Linked DNA regions of Homo sapiens: all the other regions are linked to region 3. Evidence: promoter capture Hi-C in 16 types of primary human blood cells and fetal thymus (Javierre and others, 2016). All regions are on one chromosome and are shown on one strand. Each heading gives the region's core, a stretch centred on a gene start or on the middle of the fragment in contact. The rest is flanking DNA. Distances are from core to core; before and after follow the strand shown.

Region 1 (2,953 bases), core at 370-2,869, 35 kb before region 3:
ACTACAGGGACGCACCACCATGCCCAGCTAATTTTTGTATTTTTAGTAGAGATGTGGTTTCACCATGTTGGCCAGGATGGTCTTGATCTCTTGACCTCGTGATCCACCCGCCTCGGCTTCCCAAAGTGCTGGGATTATAGGCATAAGCCACCACGCCTGGCCTGAAATTATTTTTCTATACAGTTCTTAGAGGAAGTGTTTGGGTCACCTACATAGGCATGTAGTTCTTGACACTGGTTACTAGAGGATTTATAGAGGATGTTCATATATTCAACAAGCATTTGTTGAATACCTATTAGGTGCTAGCCATGGAAATATGGGATTGAAAAAAACAGACAAAAATCCCTAATCTCTCTTACAATCTAGTGAGGACAATCAGACAGTACACAAAATAAGCATAATATATAGTAATCATGTGGTAGTAAGTTCTATAGAGCAAAAACAAGTTTAAAGAAGGAGGTTGGGGGGAGTGTTGAGATGCATAAGGTTTGCAGTTATAAATGTGGTGGTTAGGGAATCATTTGCTGAAAAATGAACATTGAGCAAAAACCTGAAGGATGTTAAAGGAATAAGATACATGTAATCCAGATGAAAGTTTTTTGGATAAAGGAAAGAGCAATTGCTAAATCCCTGAGGTGGGAGTGGGCTGTTCATAAGACAGCAAAGCAGCCAGGGTAGCTGAGTGATTGACAGCGGAAGATGGAAAATGGGGAATAGTTGGTGTAGGACCTAGTTGTGAGGATATTGACTTTGTTTTTTTTCCAAGACAGAGCTGTGCTCTGTCGCCCAGGCTAGAGTGCAGTGGCATGATCTTGGCTCACTGCAATCTCCGCCTCCCGGGTTCAAGCAATGCTCCTGCCTTAGCCTCCCCAGTAGCTGGGATTACAGGCACCTGCCACCATGTCCAATTAATTTTTGTATTTTTAGTAGAGATGGGGTTTCGCCATGTTAGCCAGGCTGGTCTTGGACTCCTGACCTCAAGTGATCTGCCCGCCTCAGCCTCCCAAAGTGCTGGGATTACAGGCGTGAGCCACCATGCCCACCCTAGGATATTTACTTTTATTTTGAATAAGGATGCCACTGGAGGCCAGACGTGGTGGCTAACGCCTATAATCCCAGCACTTTGGGAGGACGAGGCGGGTGGATCACGAGGTTAGGAGATTGAGACCATCCTGGCCAACATGGTGGAACCCCGTCTCTACTAAAAAAAAAAAAAAAATTAGCCAGGTGTGGTTGCATGCGCCTGTAGTCCCAGCAACTCAGGAGGCTGAGGAAGGAGAATCACTTGAACCCGGGAGGTGGAGGTTGCAGTGAGCCGAGATCGCCCCACTGTACTCCAGCCTGGGTGACAGAGCAAGACTCTGTCTCAAAAAAAAAAAAAAAAAAAAATGCCACTGGAGAGCTTTGAGGAGAGGATCAGTCTGGCTACTGGGTTGGGAATTAATCATAGCAGGCAAAGGCAAAAGAAGTGAGGTTAGTTAGGAGGCTTTACAACAACCCAGATGAGAGATGGGAGGTTTTAGCCAGGGAGATGGAGATGTTGAGAGAGTAGCTGGACTCAGGATTGTGACAGTGGACTGAAGGAAAAGCAGGTTTTGGGGGAAGATTGCATTTCTCCCTTCAACTTCAGTTACGTAGATCACCCATATGCCACACAACTGCAACTCTGTAACAGCCAATTTTTAGCTTCTTCCTTATCTAAGCCATCCTGTAGGCCATAGGAATTAAAACTAGGTTGGATCAAGGAAAAGTGAATGCTAGATCCATACAAAACTATTTGGATATTTGCCTTTGTATTTTATTGTTTTGAAATTATTTTTAATGGTTCAATAAACTCTTACTAGAACTACAAGCAATATAATTATTTCCTCTGCTTTATTAGAAATGTTTTTGTAATCATGTTAATTATATTACTTTTAACTATATAAGGCTTGTGTCTCTTTTTTATAAATTGATGTTTATATCCTCTGTAAGATAAATATAAAGGCTTTTTGTTCATATGAGGATGTGCTGTAAGATTGCAGGGAGTATAAAAATTGGCAATGGAGTAGGTGACTTGTATTATTAGTCTGATCTTAATGTTGTAACATACTGATCATGCAAAATATATAATTAGTTTGTTTTTGCTATTTAATATGTGTAGGACTGTAACAAACAGACTAGAGAAGATGGCCATAAGTTACAAGAAAGCAAGTAAATTACTATCTAATTAAAAGTATTTGATTCTAATACTAGCAGAGTTCTGTCTAGAAAATAAATTAACTTTCTGTATGCTTTTTTTGGTCTCAATTTTCCAATAATTTCCCTCAACTCTGATATGTGTCTGTTGAATAATATTTCTGATGTTAAGAATTAAAGGGGGTGTAGATCAGTGGTAGGGCGCACGCTTAGCATGCATGAGGCCCTGGGTCAATCCCCAGCACCTCCACAAAGGTTTTCTGGCTGGACACGGTGGCTCACACCTGTAATCTCAGCATTTTGGGAAGCTGAGTTGGACAGATCACTAGAGGTCAGGAGTTCGAGACCAGCGTGGCCAACATGGTGAAACCCTATTTCTACTAAAAATACAAAAAAATTAGCCGGTCACGGTGGCACACACCTGTAATCTCAGCTACTTGGGAGGCTGAGGCATGACAATCGCTTGAACCTGGAAGGCGGGGGTTGTAGTGAGGTGAGATCATGCCACTGCACTCTAGCCTGGGTGACAGAGCAAGATTCCATCTCAAAAAAAAAAAAAAATTTAGTTTAAGAACAAATAATATTGTTTATTTTCATATGGGATTTGAAATCTGAATCTAATAATTATTGGTATTATTACTAATTCCCTTGCACCACTGAACAATTTTCTGTTTAGGGACGTTGGCTATAACAAGTATATAGACATAGTGATATATAAGTTTTCTGTTTTAAAACTGAGTTTCTTTTTTTCCCCTGCCAATTTAAAGGCACACAA
Region 2 (2,939 bases), core at 32-2,531, 52 kb after region 3:
TTAGAACCCAGCCTCTAATTGCCCAATGTCCCCTGCCTGTCCTTCACACAGTCAGGGCTGGTATACACAGAAGATGAATGGCAGAAGGAGTGGAATGAACTGATCAAGCTTGCCTCAAGTGAACCCCGAATGCATCTAGGTACCAATGGAGCCAACTGTGGTGGGTAAGTATGGCTAAGTAGGGGAGGAGGAAACCTGCATAGAGTCCTCACTGGGCTTCCACAGCCCAGTGTCTAGAGAGCTCTGTGCTAAGAGGATATTAGAAGGAAAGAGGGGAACTATGCTAAGGGCACAAAAGTGTGTAACAACATGATATGTTTAGGAACTACAGGTAGTTCGGTATTGAACTGGAATATAAAGTAGCCCATCTAGACTTTGGAAACTTCAGGACAAATGACCCAGTATCTTCAGTAAGTAAACTGCAAGGAAAATAAAAAGGGACCAGGAACTTGTAGGTTTAAATGGACTAAAAAGACATATCAGGCCGGGTGTGGTGTCTCACACCTGTAATCTCAGCACTTTGAAAGGCTGAGGCAGGAGGATCGTGTGAGCCCAGGAGTTCGAAACCAGCCTGGGTAACATAGTGAGACCCCCTTTCTTTTTCTTTCTTTTTTTTCTTTTTTTTTTGAGACAGAGTCTTACTTTGTTGCCCAGGCTGGAGTGCAGTGGTGTGATCTCTGCTCACTGCAACCTCTGCCTTCAGGGTTCAAGTGATTCTCTGTTTCAGCCTCCCAAGTAGCTGGGACTACAGATGCATGCCACCACGCCCAGCTAATTTTTGTATTTTTATTAGAGACGGGGTTTCACCATTTTGGCCAGGGTGATCTCAAACTCCTGGCCTCAAGTGATCCACCCACCTTGGCCTCCCAAAGTGCTGGGATTACAAGCATGAGCCACCATGCCTGGCCAGTGAGACCACATCTTAAAAAAAAAAAATTAGCCAGGCATGGTGGTGCATGCCTATAGTCCCAGCTACTTGGGAGGCTGAGGTGGGAGGATTGCCTGAGCTGGGGAGGTCGAGGCTGCAGTGAGTTGTGACAGCACCCCTGCACTCCAGCCTGGGTGACAAAGAGAGACCTCTGTCTCTAAAAGAAAAAAAAGACATCAACCAGTTGGGATGTGTGGACATCATAAGACAATTAAGGAAATGTGAACAATGTCTCTGTGTTTGATTATTGTTAAAATTATAAAATGTGATATTAATGGTATAGTGGTTGTTTAAAAAGGTAGTCCTGGCCAGGCGCAGTGGCTCACGCCTGTAATCCCAGAACTTTGGGAGGCCGAGGTGGGCGGGAATTCGAGACCAGCCTGGCCAATGTGGTGAAACCCTGTCTCTACTGAAAATACAAAAAATTAGCTGGGCGTGGTGCTAGGCGGCTGTAATCCCAGCTACTCGAGAGGCTGAGGCAGGAGAATTGCTTGAACCCAGGAAGCAGAGGTTGTAGTCAGCCGAGTTCGTGCCACTGCACTCCAGCCCTGGCGACAGAGTGAGACTCCATTTCAAAAAAAAAAAAAAAAAAAAAAAGGTAGTCCTTTATGTTTTTAGAGATAGAAACTGAAATAAAATAAAAATGGATGAAATTATATAATGTCCAGGATTTGCTTCAAAATTCTCTGGTGGTAGCCCCGTGATGGGGGAGGTAGGTAAATAGATCTGAGGTGTAGTAAAACAAGATTGACCAAGTGTTGAAGATGGCCAAATAGGAACAGCTCCAGTCTACAGCTCCCAGCATGAGTGACGCAGAAGAGGGATGATTTCTGCATTTCCAACTGAGGTACCGGGTTCATCTCAGTAGGGCTTGTTGGACAGTGGGTATAGCCCACGGAGCGTGAGCCGAAGCAGGGCGGGGCATTGCCTCACCTGGGAAGCACAAGGAGTTGGAGAATTCCCTTTCCTAGCCAAGGGAAGCCGTGACAGACGGTACCTGGAAAATCGGGACATTCCCACCCTAATACTGCCCTTTTCCAACGGTCTTAGCAAATGGCACACCAGGAGATTATATCCCGTGCCTGGCTCGGAGGGTCCCATGCCTGCGGAGGCTTGCTCACTGCTAGCACAGCAGTCTGAGATAGAACTGCAAGGAGGCAGTGAGGCTGGGAGAGGGGCGTCCGCCATTGCTGAGGCTTGAGTAGGTAAACAAAGCGGCCGGGAAGCTCGAACTGGGTGGAGCCCACTGCAGCTCAAGGAGGCCTGCCTGCCTCTGTAGACTCCACCTCTGGCGGCAGGGCATAGCTGAACAAAAGGTAGCAGGAACTTCTGCAGACTTAAACGTCCCTGTCTGACAGCTTTGAAGAGAGTAGTGGTTCTCCCAGCACGCGGTTTGAGATCTGAGAACGGACAGACTGCCTCCTCAAGTGGGTCCCTGACCCCCGAGTAGCCTAATTGGGAGACACCTCCCAGTAGGGGCTGACTGACATCTTATACAGCCGGGTGCCCCTCTGAGATGAAGCTTCCAGAGAAAGGATCAGGCAGCAACATTTGCCGTTCTGCAATATTTGCTGTTCTGCAGCCTCCACTGGTGATACCCAGGCAAACAGGGTCTGGAGTGGACCTCCAGCAAACTCCAACAGACCTGCAGCTGAGGGTCCTGACTGTTAGAAGGAAAACTAACAGAAAGGACATCCACACCAATACCCCATCTGTATGTCACCATCATCAAAGACCAAAGGTAGATAAAACCACAAAGATGGGGAGAAACCAGAGCAGAAAAGCTGAAAATTCTAAAAATCAGAGTGCCTCTTCTCCTCCAAAGGAACGCAGCTCCTCACCAGCAACAGAACAAAGCTGGACGGAGAATGACTTTGACGAGTTGAGAGAAGAAGGCTTCAGACGATCGGTAATAACAAACTCTGAGCTAAAGGAGGATGTTCGAACCCATCGCAAAGAAGCTAAAAACCTTGAAAAAAGATTAGACGAATGGCTAACTAGAATAAACAGC
Region 3 (3,005 bases), core at 419-2,918:
CCAGAATGTTTGTGTAGAGTTACTAGAATTTCAGTCTTTTCATTCTAAAGTATTTTCATCCCTCTCACCTTTCTAGAACGACACCCTTTTCAGCTCCTTTCCAACGGCTGTAGCCAACTGATTCTACCCCAGAGTCCCAAGCGTCCACCCCCGTACCCTTCCAGTTCAGTTCAGTTAGAGTTCAGTTAGAGTCAATTTAGGTGACCAAATCTCATCCTGCTCTCCTCCTTAAATTTACCACTAAACGGTAGCTAAAATTTGTGGTCCCTTATACGCTTGAAGCCCACGCCAAATGACTTTACTTGTCAACCTCTATTGTATGTCTTGGATATGCCCCCATGCAAGGCACTCTGACTTGTTTGGCCTTAGCATGTGTGGACAGCCTTGGGCCCAGCCCTAAATTTTCGATTGTAAACCCAGGTGTATCCCTAAGAGATATAGCTGTCTAGGAAGTTTCCCTGTTTCAGGTGTCAGTTTCCTATTCTGAGCTAGACAATTCTAAAATGCCTATGCCCCACGCCTCCCCTTTAGAAACTGAGGAAGAAGTGAGGGGAAAGAAAAGTTGACTAGAGTATTTGTTTTTACATAGGCATAATGGGCACAATTAGGCAATACATTATTTTGAATATGCAGACCAGGTGCTATAATGTTAGGAATCTGAATTAAAATTTCAAATGTCTTTTGTTAGAGTATAGCCGGGGTTGGCATCGTTTTGTGTTTGTCATAAAGAGGTATTTACTAAATGGCCTTTCTTTCTTGAAACAGTCCACACAGGCCTAATACTTATTCATTCATTCAACAAATATGGAAGGTCTACTATGTGACAAGGATGGCTTATTATGTTCTCATAGCCATAGCTCATTGTCACTCAGGTAGGACACATACAAGTTCTGCTACATATAATATAGTTTTATGTATTTTACTAAATTGTAAAACCTTTGATGTCTGGGATTATGTCTTGTTAATTTTTGTATCCCCCTGTATCACTGAGAGCAGTGATACACATCACAGGGATACAATACATATTTGAATTATGCCATAATGTTTTAAAAGACATAACAAACGCACTAGAAGACATAACAAACGCACTATGTAAGTTTTTTTTACTGTTAGCAGTCTAAAGCAGATGTATCAACAGGGTATCACTGTTATGCAAGTAAATAAATATTAAGTGTTTACAGAGAAGGATATGTTCACTTCAAGAGTGAAGGAACAAGAGAAATATATAATTGGGTGGAGACTGGTGTGGAAGAAGCTAATCTTCCTCCGGTCACTCCAGAATGATTGTGTAGAGTTACTAGAATGTCAGTCTTTTCATTCTGAAGTATTTTCATCTCTCTCACCTTTCTACAACTACTCCACCCCTTTCAGCTCCTTCCCAACGGCTGTAGCCAACTGATTCTACCCCAGAGTCCTAAGAGTCCACCCTGTACTCCTCCAACTCCTGTTCAAGAATGCTCCAGACCAGGAGCTTTAGGGACTCGGGTCGGGAAAACACGGGGTCACGCGCGGGGCAAGCGCCAAACTGGCCGCAGCCTGGGGAGCGGCGCTAAAGGCGGGGCTGCGACGGGGCGGAGCGGGAGGAGGCCCGGGGGCGGCCTGGGTGTCACCACCAACCCGCTCCGGCCGGAAACTGGCGCCTGTTTCCGGCCGGACAGCAGAAAGCCACCGATCCTGAACCAGCCGCCGGAGCCGGAGTGGCGACCGGGTGCGGAGTGGGCAAAAAGCCACTGGGGGAGGCCAGTCCCGATCAGTCCTTTCTGGCTCCAGCTCCAGATCCCGTGCGGAGCAACAGCTGCGGTCGCAGTCTCCACCACCGCCTCCACCTCCATCGCCGTCGGGGGAGGGGCCGGCCGGACCCCGGGGTCACTGCCGAGGAATGAAGAGAGGCGGCCGGGCCCCGCGCTCCGCCCCGGCCTAGGGCCTTGCCCCGGGAGCCCGCGAGGGTAACGGAGCCCCCCGTCCTGACACCGTCCCCCGTCTGCTCCCGCCCCTCCCGGCTTCTCAGACTCGCAAACTCTGCTCCTCAGATCGCCACTGTCCCCTTTCTCCTTTCTGAATCTGTTTCACCCGAAGCCATCTCCCCTCGGCACTCCTTTCTCGCCCTGACTGCTCCTTGCTTCGTCCCGATCTTTCCTCCTCCCTTTCACCTGCGTCCTGCGTTCCTACCCCGCGCTCTCCAGCTCCCGGCCTCCCTTCCTGAGCTGTGCTGGCCAGTTTGGACGGTCCCCCCTTGTCAGCTAGACTTTCGGGAGGGATGGTGGAGTTTTAAGGTGATTAAGATGCAGTGTATTATCCCCACAGTAGGATAAAGTTCATTTAAAATCTCAATATAATACTAAAATGAAAAGCAAATAAGCTTATTCTTCCTATTGATAGCCAAACTAAGGTGCATACAGTAATGGAGGAAAGGCGAGAAAAAGGTGTGTGTGTGTGTTTGTGTGTGTGTGTGAGAGAGGGAGAGAGACGGAGGTTGACGGATTCTAGGGCAGTCTTAAGAACTTTAGAAAAAAGAAAAGTTGCCATGAGCCGATGGAAACTTTAGAAGCTGATGATGAGTAAGCCGGGGGCTGCGTGATCTCACTCTTCTCATAATTACTAGGTTAACGGTGTGGCTCCGGTCGGGATGGAATGGGATTTGTTTACTGGGCCGGCGTATTTTTAGCTTGTCGGCTCACAAGGACCAGCGCTCAGAGTCTCTTTCTCCCCGCTCGTGGTAGTCTTTCTTGTCTAACCTAGGTGGCTTCTCTGGGCACAATAAAGATGTAAAAATTTGAAATTAGAAACTGACTGGTGGAATTTTATGGAAGAAGTTCCCCACAAACTTTTCAGGCAGCTTTTCACGAATGCAAAGCCTAGAATTAGCAGGACGTTGACTTTTATTTTCCTTATCTTTTTATACGTACTACGTAACGCTTTGCTTAGAAATTCACATGCTGCTAATTTTTCAGTCTTTGGCCTCTAGTACTGTATATTTAGGAGATTTTTGAGGAGGCTGGATCCCT

The links. Contacts are between HindIII fragments. The CHiCAGO score rates a contact against its expected background, and 5 or more counts as called.
Region 1: a fragment that was not itself captured here is called in contact with the fragment with the promoter of OTUD7B in region 3 in 2 of 17 cell types (M0 macrophages and M2 macrophages); the score reaches 5.5 in M0 macrophages.
Region 2: a contact is called between a fragment that was not itself captured here and the fragment with the promoter of OTUD7B in region 3, in 1 of 17 cell types (M0 macrophages). The highest score is 5.4, in M0 macrophages.

What each region holds. Positions count from the first base shown.
Region 1 is chr1:150,044,881-150,047,833 of GRCh38, reverse strand. All of the region lies in intron 1 of LOC124904413 (a long non-coding RNA gene), which reads right to left. It also overlaps a transcript of OTUD7B not described here. Among named protein-coding and RNA genes, the nearest start is that of VPS45, 21 kb to the left of the region's middle. The HindIII fragment of the contact is 5,915 bases long and covers 1-2,953 here.
Region 2 is chr1:149,956,909-149,959,847 of GRCh38, reverse strand. OTUD7B (OTU deubiquitinase 7B) reads left to right here. Exons shown (of 12, transcript NM_020205.4): 7 at 52-164. Among named protein-coding and RNA genes, the nearest start is that of MTMR11, 21 kb to the right of the region's middle. The HindIII fragment of the contact is 2,342 bases long and covers 111-2,452 here.
Region 3 is chr1:150,009,389-150,012,393 of GRCh38, reverse strand. It overlaps OTUD7B (OTU deubiquitinase 7B), which reads left to right and starts at 1,668. Exons shown (of 12, transcript NM_020205.4): 1 at 1,668-1,946. RefSeq lists silencers at 1,507-1,556, 1,817-2,106 and enhancers at 2,627-2,676, 2,041-2,923. The HindIII fragment of the contact is 17,924 bases long and covers 1-2,361 here.